Regions from separate parts of the Homo sapiens genome. Here all the other regions are linked to region 2. The links are contacts of gene promoters, found by promoter capture Hi-C in blood cells and fetal thymus (Javierre and others, 2016). All regions are on one chromosome and are shown on one strand. Each heading gives the region's core, a stretch centred on a gene start or on the middle of the fragment in contact. The rest is flanking DNA. Distances are from core to core; before and after follow the strand shown.

The links. Contacts are between HindIII fragments. The CHiCAGO score rates a contact against its expected background, and 5 or more counts as called.
Region 1: a contact is called between a fragment that was not itself captured here and the fragment with the promoter of RASAL2-AS1 in region 2, in 1 of 17 cell types (monocytes). The highest score is 5.5, in monocytes.
Region 3: a fragment that was not itself captured here is called in contact with the fragment with the promoter of RASAL2-AS1 in region 2 in 1 of 17 cell types (M0 macrophages); the score reaches 7.4 in M0 macrophages.

What each region holds. Positions count from the first base shown.
Region 1 is chr1:178,725,700-178,729,073 of GRCh38, reverse strand. The region is part of intron 1 of RALGPS2 (Ral GEF with PH domain and SH3 binding motif 2); the gene reads right to left. RALGPS2-AS1 (RALGPS2 antisense RNA 1) reads left to right here and starts at 2,790. Exons shown (of 1, transcript NR_187252.1): 1 at 2,790-3,374. RefSeq lists a silencer at 3,021-3,250 and an enhancer at 2,891-3,374. The HindIII fragment of the contact is 698 bases long and covers 1,344-2,041 here.
Region 2 is chr1:178,091,871-178,095,299 of GRCh38, reverse strand. RASAL2-AS1 (RASAL2 antisense RNA 1) reads left to right here and starts at 1,307. Exons shown (of 2, transcript NR_027982.1): 1 at 1,307-1,739; 2 at 1,888-3,429. RASAL2 (RAS protein activator like 2) reads right to left here and starts at 1,196. Exons shown (of 18, transcript NM_170692.4): 1 at 606-1,196. The coding sequence starts at 807. RefSeq lists silencers at 758-817, 968-1,127, 1,198-1,497, 1,548-1,597 and an enhancer at 1,219-1,720. The HindIII fragment of the contact is 4,675 bases long and covers 1-2,805 here.
Region 3 is chr1:179,029,387-179,032,363 of GRCh38, reverse strand. All of the region lies in intron 1 of FAM20B (FAM20B glycosaminoglycan xylosylkinase), which reads right to left. Among named protein-coding and RNA genes, the nearest start is that of FAM20B, 5.0 kb to the right of the region's middle. RefSeq lists a silencer at 2,696-2,977 and an enhancer at 2,759-2,977. The HindIII fragment of the contact is 3,274 bases long and covers 1-2,977 here.

The DNA of each region.
Region 1 (3,374 bases), core at 443-2,942, 630 kb before region 2:
TGTATTATTCAAAAGCCAGTACCAAAAGTTTCTCTGTAATGAAATAAACGGCCAAGCTTCCTCAAGCTAAGTCATATGAACACTGCTATATCCATATAACTGTATGTATATATAGATCCTTCCCATATCCCTAACTAGCTACTTAGTAAAGTGACTATGTAAATTTATATTCAAACTTTTTTCTTTCCATAGAATAGGTAAATGTAACACATTTTAAATTCCAGTGTTTTATTTCTATTATGTAGTTAAAAGTTTTCCTAAATCAAAAGCTCAAGACATTAAACCAAAAAAGATTCCAGATTAATTCCACGTTACTAAAATTTATCACAATCTTTATTCTCTCACTAAAAAGGATTCAATAGGAAATTTAAGACACATTTAAAGAAACAATTTACAGGGTAATGCAATACATTCATTTTCCTCTCCAAGGAACTTCACTCAGGCTGGGGTAGTTTCAAGCTATTTGAATTATCTTTCATTGAAAATTAACTTAAAAAAAAGTATTCATATTAAAGTGACAATTTTATTCCAAATACAGTCGTTACACAATAAATATCTCATATTCAAAAAATGGATACACTTCAATATCTTATTCTCAAACTGTGTATCATTAAAATTAAAAGTAAACCCAAACTATGTGCCTATTTTACATAGCAAAAAAAAAAAAAAAAGCATACTTTCGGAGAAAATGGGTTTAAAGTTTAACTCACAAAAGAAAACAAATTTGATTCAATAAATTTCAATTAATAGTTTGGTTTATGGTTTAAAAGTTATTTAAAAATTTCTGAAAAAGCAGATTATCAAGGAATTGGTTCACTCACAGTCAGCCAGAAATAAAAAGGTGATATTTTAAAATTTTAGACCAAAAAAGAAATTTAGATTCCCTTATAAATAAATGCCGAGAGAATATTTTCAGCAAACATTCATTTAACTACATAAACCAAAAGAATAAGGCTGTCTAACCACATGTAAACTACGCATCATCTGACTTCAGGTAGAATGTTTATCTTTGGTATACTTGGTAACCAGAAACCCAAAGTATATAAACATAGGCATATTCTAAAAACAATTGTCTTAATGTTTTTGTTCGCTAGGCAATAATTCCCACAATTCTCAGAAAGAAAAAAACAATATCCTTAACCAAAAAGTTATCAGAGGAGTTTCTACTTCTTAAACTTTTAAACAAACATATTTGCCCACTTATCATTTAAGCCCCATCAGGGCTTAAATGATAAGCCCTGTTGTGTCTCCCCTGTTGTGTCCCCAACCTCTAGGGAACTAACTGGCACCAAGTAGGTACCCAATACACATGTGCAGAATGAACTGAGTCTCTGGAAAAAGCTTAAGTGTTTTAAGTTGCAACAGGACAATTTCACCTATATATCCATCATTCACTACACTGAACTCTAATGACGTAATAAAAAGACTCGTACCAGGTATTTAAAAACACACACAAAAATATATTACTCACATATGTATCTGACTCACAAAGCCAGTTTTTCAGTTATGTTTTCTCTCAGGAAAATTTGTTGTATTCTTTCTAGTATTACTAATAAATATTAGAAAAGCACGTTGTGTTCTGCCAATGCAAGCATTATCTTCAAACTTACGTTGCAATCTGAAAAAATTTAGGCAAACTAAACAGTATTTCCAGAGTCCTGCCCCAAAGTATTACTAAAAGTCAAATTCCTTAATTCAATGAAAAGTGAAATAACGCACAGTGGCGCATGCCTGTAGTCCCAGCTTCTTGGGAGCCTGACACGGGAGGATCGCTTGAGCTCAGGAGTCTGAGACCAGCCTGAGCCAAATAAGGAGAACCTATCTTAAAAGGAAAAAAAAAAAAGTGGAATATAATGGGAAAAACGCACATCTTACCGTTCAAAAATTATGCTGAATTTTAAAAAGAAAAAATGAACTACGCTTAAAATAAATACACTGAAATTGTTTATCCCAAATGGCATTAATGCCCTTACATTTTGATATTTAGATCTGCCTCAAAAGACCTTTGAAGCTACATGATAAACTTCATGCCTACAAAGCTTGAGTTAGAGGTTATCTTTGTTAAAATAATACTGTTTGGATGCTCAGTTTTGGAAGTTTCCTCATAATTCTAAATTAAGATATTTAGCCGTAAGAGTAATACACTTATGTGTATGATTCTATAGCACTTGTTCTATAGCACTTGTACAAGCATAATGATCTTGAGTGGAACAGGCTTTATAATGAGCAAGCTATGATCTGTCTAACAGCGATACTCTGCAAACACGGGCTGAAAAGTTTCCTAAAATTCTGATGGTCATCTTCAAAGAAACTTGAACAGGAATCGATCTAATGGTGGACACAGAAAAATACCCAAGTCAACTCATGAACACTGGTAAGAAAAGGCTCTCTATAGCAACTAAAGTGTTGGGGAAAAAAAATCCAGGGAGCATAAACGATAAAGCTCAATTAACTGCTGCTTGTGTGATTCCACTTTATGGTCTTAAATACACAGTAGGCATTAGATATTTCTTTTGGGGTTTTTTTTTTTTAACAGAAATTTAGTATTTCAATTGCCCCTCCTCCACAGCTAACATCAGTGCCCTTTCTTCCTCCTCCCTTACCCCTCCCAACTCAAACAAATTAACATTTGTACTAGGTACCTCCTATCAGCTCGCAGCTTCTTCCCAAACACGCCCACGTACACTGAAACTGGCTTGCGTCTACACAACACACAGCTACAGGAAAAGAGCTTCGAGGGGGGAGCTGGGGCGGGGGGTTAATAATTCGCTCCGCACAGGTTTACGGCTATTTTCCAGAAACTAGTTCCTCGCTCGTGGCTCGCGTTTCTTCCAAATCACCTCAAAAGCACGGTGTTTATGAGCCTACCTAATCCGATACTGCAATGGAATTCCGGATATTTGCAGACAGATCTCCCGGCTTTGCAAGTGTTTGATGAGATACGTTCGGAATCTCCTTTTTTTTCTAGAGCCCGGTTCCAGGCCGTAGAGCAAGCCGACCTGGGGCTGCGGCCCCTGCCCCACACCCGGCCCGCGCGCCCGGCCCGAGGCCAGCACAGGACGCAGCCCCTCCGGGGCCGGGGCTGGCGGGGGCCGCTCGGGCTGCGGGCCGCTCTGCAACAGGTCACCCTGACCGCGACTCCGCGGGTTCGCGGGCGGCCAACTCTGCGGCCAGGCTTCTGGGCGCAGCCGCCAGGGCCAGGGGAGGGGGTGTGGCCCGGCTTCTGCTGGTCCTGGCTCCGAGGTCCGGGATCGGGCTCACCTGAAGGAAGACTGAGGCGCCGCTGGGCGCCAGAACAGAGCGGGCGGAGGCTGGGGGCTTCCGCCACCCAAGAGGGAGAGCGAGGCGGGTTCAAGGGGTCGCAGCGCCCCCGG
Region 2 (3,429 bases), core at 58-2,557:
CACTTTTAACCTGCTGAGTGGCAACCCAGTCACTTTACAACGAGATTCAGAAACAATAGTGTAATCTGAAACAATCCACACCCGTTGGAATAAGTGGTTGCTTTTAGAGAGAGTGAGGTTCAGGCAGAGGTTATAGATTAGTCTTGCTCCCACCAAATACATAGTTTGCATTTTTTTCATTCATTAGCTTATCCTCTGCTTTTTCATAATATCTTGGTTTCCAGTCTTGCCTCATTCAACAATAAAAAGAGACGAAAATCCATTCACTTGGTTTCATGGAGTTTTTCCATCATACCTTCTTGAAGATTGATTGCCTGGCTGTTCCCTTGAAGTAATCGCCTAAGAATTACGTCTTGGATAGCCCAACTCCCGCATTAAACTTACTGCAGGTGTCTGAAGAGGTCCAAAGACCATACTGAGTGACATCCCTGCCCAAGTGATAGTCTGAAGAAACTTGTCAGAAATGCACCCCCAGAACAAAAAGGGATGTGGGAAACTGACCTAGCACGGATGAGGACTGGGAATGAGCCTGTGACTTAGGGAATGAATTTCAGCCCAAGCAAAAATAGGAAACACCAGCCTCTAAGACGGCCTGTGGTCCTTACCGTACACCCGGACCCAGCTCTGTTGCTGGCACACGGACTCCAGAAGGATCCGATCCAACATGCCACCGGCGACGGCTCCACTGACTGGGACAACCGCGTCCAGGTCCTCCGGGGGCAGCGGCGAGTCGGACTCCAGCGCCGGGAACATCTCCGGCCAGGACAGCGCCTCCGCGGCTCCTCCGGACGACGGAGAGAGCTCCATGGTGCCCCGAGGCGGGAGGGGGACGAGGCGGCGGCTTCGGGGCGGGCTGGCGCGCGGCTCCGCGCCCTGCCTGCGGTAAGGGGAGGAGGAGAGCGCGCAGCGAGGGCAGGGACCCGAGCGGCAGCCGGCGCGGACACCTCTCACCTCCTTCCCCGTCGCCCACTGCCCGAGGCTCGGGCGATGCAGCCCACCTGCAGTCGGCGGGCGGGACCCAGGCCGGGAGGAGGATCCAGCGTGGCCCCGACCAAGGGTGGGTCCGGGCTCAGGTGTGTGTGGGTCCCTCCCGGGAGAGGACGCAGAAGAACCCGGGAGGGGAGGCTCGCCCTCCCACCTCCTCGGAGCCGCCTTCTTCAGCCCCGCCGGCGTCTCTCGCGGTCAGACCAGGCTCTGGCTGGGGATGGAGCGGGGCCGGGCAGGGCTGGGCTTGGGGGCGTCGCCGCCAGGGGCCGCCCCCTCTGACCGGCTCCCGCCGCCGCCGCCTCAGAAGCTCCGAGTGCCCGTTCCCTCAGCCTGAGGAGGGGTAGGGGGCGGTGGCCCCGGGTTCTAGCCCGCCTGTCCTCGGCCCCCACTTCTGGAATGAGCCTGCCCGCCCCCTGACTCTCAGGCCACAGCTCCGGCCACAGCTCTGGCTCCTGCTCCGCGGCGGATCCCACAAACCCGGCAGCCACGGCGGTGGCGGTGGCGGTGGCGGTGGCGGTGGCGGCGGCGGCGGCGGCGGCAGCGGCAGGCGGCATCCCAGGGTGATAGGCTGAAGCAATCGAGGGCCGAGAGCCCGGCCGCGTGTGCACTCGAGTAACGAAGCCGGGGAGGGACTGCGCCGCAGGCAGGAAAAGTCGGACACCGAATTATTCATCCGGCCTGTCCCGCCTACTTTCCAAGTACCCTCCCAGGGATAGCCGGGTATTGAGCGGTCCGGGTCTCTGCTGCTCAAAGTAAAGACCGTTTGAGAAGGCGGGGAGGTAAAAGGGTGCGGGAAATTTAAACAGAAAAGAAAGGAGCTTCCCTTCCTTCTCACACCTTTCCTATTTATTTGTTTCTTTCTTTCTTTATGGGCCAACGTTTCTTTCTTATTGGACAAAGAGATCGAAGAAGCTGCTTTATCTTACAGTCACCCAAGGGGGAGCGCCTTCTTCCTTCCCAGAGTGGAGTGGCAGTGGGTCCGGGATTCTGGGATATGCACAGGGTCTGCGCCCTGCGCCCTGTCCGCGCTGAAGCTGAACTTGTCATTGGTTTGCAACAGCATGGTGAAGAAGTGTGGTGTGGATGGACGGACGGGCCTCTCAGGCACATGAAATACTCAAAGCCCAGTATTAACCAAACATGTTTCTCTGTTTTGTCTTTGATCTTTGTGCAGTGTGTTGGCTTTTTTCCTTTAATGATGTCACTTGTATTTTATTTTTGGTTTATTTGTAGACTGTCTCCCTCCTTGGCCATGGCTTTACTTTTATGTCCACCCAAGGAGAGTTTCACCAGTTTAGGTTTAAGAAATTACTGACAAGTTAACAATAATAATTTCAAAATTGAACAGTAATAACTTAAACCGTGCCTTGGACATAGTAGATCTCCAACAGTTTTTCTTGAATGTGGCTACCTAATGTGGAACAAGATTTTTCATAATTACATGTTGCTATTTTTAATACCTTTTGGGAGGTTCTTTAGTCCCCCCCGCCCTTTCTCCCTACGTTGCACAAAGAGACTGGTCTACAAGGGGTCCTGTTAGTTTTCTGGTTTTGTGGGGTCCTGGAATATTGTTTGGGCTTATTGAGAGTTAACAAGGATGTATTTTGTGAGTTTCTCCAAAGTCTTATTTAGAGTAATAGTATTTCAAAGCAAGAAGTGTTTTAGAGAGAACATCATTCTGCCTCTTGTTTAACAGGTGAGGAAACTGAGGAAAAACCAGCTTACCTGGCTAATCAACCACAAGTACAGATAGTTCCACAATGACTCAATGGATATTACTTCAACTTTGTTCCCTCAAGAAACTTTTGTGATTAAGCTTGTTGATTTGTGGCTTGATGGTTTACAGGAATGGTCATTTTTAATATCTAGGACCCTGCTTGCTTGCTTGCTTGCTTGCTTACTAGACTGGCTGCATAGTCAGTCTTCCACGTGTAAACAACAGTGTGTGCTTTAGTGGATAAGAGATGTTGAGTGCTGAGATTTCAAGGCTCAGCACTGAGTAGACCTAGAGCATTTTTATTTATACTAAATTAATGCCATGGTAACATAAGTTAGACAGCAAGTGAATATGGCATCAAATGTACAAAGTTGAGTATCTCTTTACTAGTCAATGTATAAGGAATTTATTTACCCAAGCAATTATCTTAAAAACAGCATTACAAGTGGTATGCGAAACATTTCCAGAATTTATTTCCACATCTGCTCTTTCAGTGGCATCATCCATTCCTGAGCTCAAGAAAAGGCCTCTGCCAACCGCCAGTAATCCTGCTTTTTTAGTAATCCTACTATTTTTTTTTTAACTTTAAGTTCTGGGATACATGTGCAGAACATGCAGGTTTGTTACATAGGTATACATGTGCCTATGTATACCTATGTAACATGGTGGTTACAGTAAACATGGTGGTTTACTGCATCTATCAACCCGTCATCTAGGTTTTAAGC
Region 3 (2,977 bases), core at 134-2,633, 940 kb before region 2:
GGTGACAGAGCAAGATCCTGTCTCAAAAAAAAAAAAAAAAAAAAAAAAAAGAATGAGACCTCTACATGTGTTGTGCTAAGATTAGTGCCTGGATGACCCACAGTAATCACTTGCTAGTCATTATCACCATATCAAAAACCCAGATGACCTCCAGAGAGGAGAAAAATGACAAAGAAAACCCTCATTGGAATCAATATACCATAATGTTGTCTTCTCAGTTACATAGTGAGGGGCCAAATCCACACATTGCATTACTAAGAGTTTAGTAGTAATTAGTAGTCTTGTATTTCTGAGCCAAATTCTTGCCTAAATTTGAGAGGTAGATAAGACTAGGCAAATAGATATCTTCAGAGTGAGTGTCATGCAAAGCAGAAGACTGGGAGGCTGTCACTAATTTGGCCAACCTGTTTCCCTTCTCTACAAAGTTCAATTCTACCACACTCAATGTAACTGAAACAGATGGGAAGCATGAACTTATCCCACTTCACAAAAAAAGGCTAAAATAGAATGCCTTTCACAACTGTTTTCAGTTTGGAAAATTAGTTCTGTGTTTTAAAGATGACAGCTTTTCATGTGCTAAAGCCCTTAAGATAAGCCTTAAGAGTAACTTAAGAGTACAGGTGTAGAAAATCTAATTCTTACATAATCCAAATTGGTCCAAGTGTCAGGTTTTCCTTACTGTTTTCACTTCCATTTAAACATTTATTTACATCTGTAAACTCAGAATCACTTATATGAAATTCTCTAACAAGTTCCCTCTGAAGGAAGGCAACTAAAACCATTACCAGGCATTAATGAAGCATTAAGGTAGTCTTTCTTGCTGGATGTGAAAGTAAAAATGAAATAGGCAATAACTGAATAATTTCAATAAGTGAACTGAAAAAAAATCAATCTCTGCAACCTGTCCCATTTAAACCTTGATTTAGGGCAACCCTCTTCCTTGAAAAATGAAAAAGAAAAAAACTTTAGCTCATACTGCTAGCGAGTTCTGTTCTAAAAAACCAACACACGCAGTAATCTTGACACTACGTGGAAATGAGTAACAATTTGCATTTTCCTTTAAATAAGCCAGGTATAATGACACTTCCCAAGTTCCAGGTATTTCACAGCACAACTGTCAGTACAGAACCACCATTTAAGGCTAGATTATAGAAGGTAATTCCTGTATAGTGTTGAAATACGGCATTACAAATATTATAACATTTTCCTTCAGCTTTTCATATGCTTTCCATCTTTAGTGTTCAATTCACTACAGTTCTTGGAAAACCACATAAACTTTATACAACAATAGACCTCGCATTTTTAGCCTTATGTTCTATGGTACGTCAAGCTGACAGCCCACACAGGAGATCACTCTCAGAAGCAGGAGAACCTCAAACAGATCTGTGCTGAAATTATGGCTAGGTGGCTCCAGGCATGATCCCTCTGTTATACTATGAACTCACACACACACAAACACACACACACACATTTTTTTTTTTTTTTGGCACATCTGTCTCTTCTAATATATTGTGTTTTTTGAGGATGGGATAGATTTTACTCACGCTTTGTACTTCCAAGTAACTTAGCACTGTGCAGGGCCTGTAAGAGGCATCTGATAAGTGTTTGTGGAATAAAAGGAGAGAAGGGCAAAGGAGAAAGACCTTTAGGGTTATAAGAATTTCTTCTAAACTGGCAACTCTCTGGTTTAAAGACTGCCTCTTTCAGAGACAGGGGGAAATAAGTCCTACAATGAATTCAAGTATACAGTATATAAAAGATGCAGAAATAGCGAATATGTATACCAATTATATACACTCAATTTAAAGTTGCCACCTTCTGTATATCCTGCTTCCACCTTTCAAGGCCACTGCTATTGCCAACCTGGTTCCTAGTATCGGCTGGGATTAAGAGTAAAGACAATTTGGAAATGCTAAAAGGAAGAAAGGAGGTTGTCTAACACACTGCCCAAGGATGATACAAGACAGGGCTGAAATCAGATCTTCAAGTATTATTGGCAGTGCTTTCTGAAACAAGAACCCACACGAGTAAGTACTTCCATATTATTTTGTTTTTTTTTTTACAGAAAACTACAGGAACATAAATGCACCTATACAGAGCACACGTTCACTATCTACACCAACGATAAGAAACAAACAAACAAAAACGTCCCTGGGCAACAAAAATAAGTGGTTACAAAGTTCATACCCTAAAACTTGGAGAAGAGCAGGTAGAACATAACTAAGCCAATTTAGCTGTTTTACATTCAATGTCAGGAAGCTCCTACTCCACAGATAAGAAGCTGCAAATTTAAAAGAGGGCAGCAAGGATACTAACAGCAGCAAAAGAGCAGCTTTCCACCACTGAAAGAAGACAAAGACTGACTACTGAATCGACTCAAGTAGATTCAATAATTCAAAAAGCACAGTGGACAACAAACTACATTTTTCGATCATCTCATAGCCTCACTCAACTACTGCCAGTATGCTAGTAATAATAACCAAAGCATATATTGTAAAAATTTTTCCACAAAAGGTATAGCTAAAATAAAATTTTCACATATAATACCTTACTCCCCAACATTAGGTAAATGAGGCATTGCTATGTATATAAAGCAGAAAGTTAACATTTGAGAGCATGGAATGATAGACTTCACTGCCTCCCTCTGTACTTGGTTCTGTCCTCTTTACACATTCATAATTTCATATTCCTTGACCTGCCTTTATAACGTGCCCAAGTTAGCACCCTCTTCTCTAAAGGGGTTATCTTGCCAGAAAGTACAGACCTTAAACACACACCAAAGCTCAAGGTCTCTTCTGCATCAGCTTACATTTTTCTCTTATCTCACACTGGGATGACAGACGCACCCATCTGTCATGTAGATTCTTTACATCCCAAGCTAGGCATTTCTTCTTTTGTTTTTGGTAAGAAAGACCAAATCAGAAGTGAGATCTTTGCATTATTTTCTCTTCTAGGCAGCTCGAGCAGTCATGCTGAC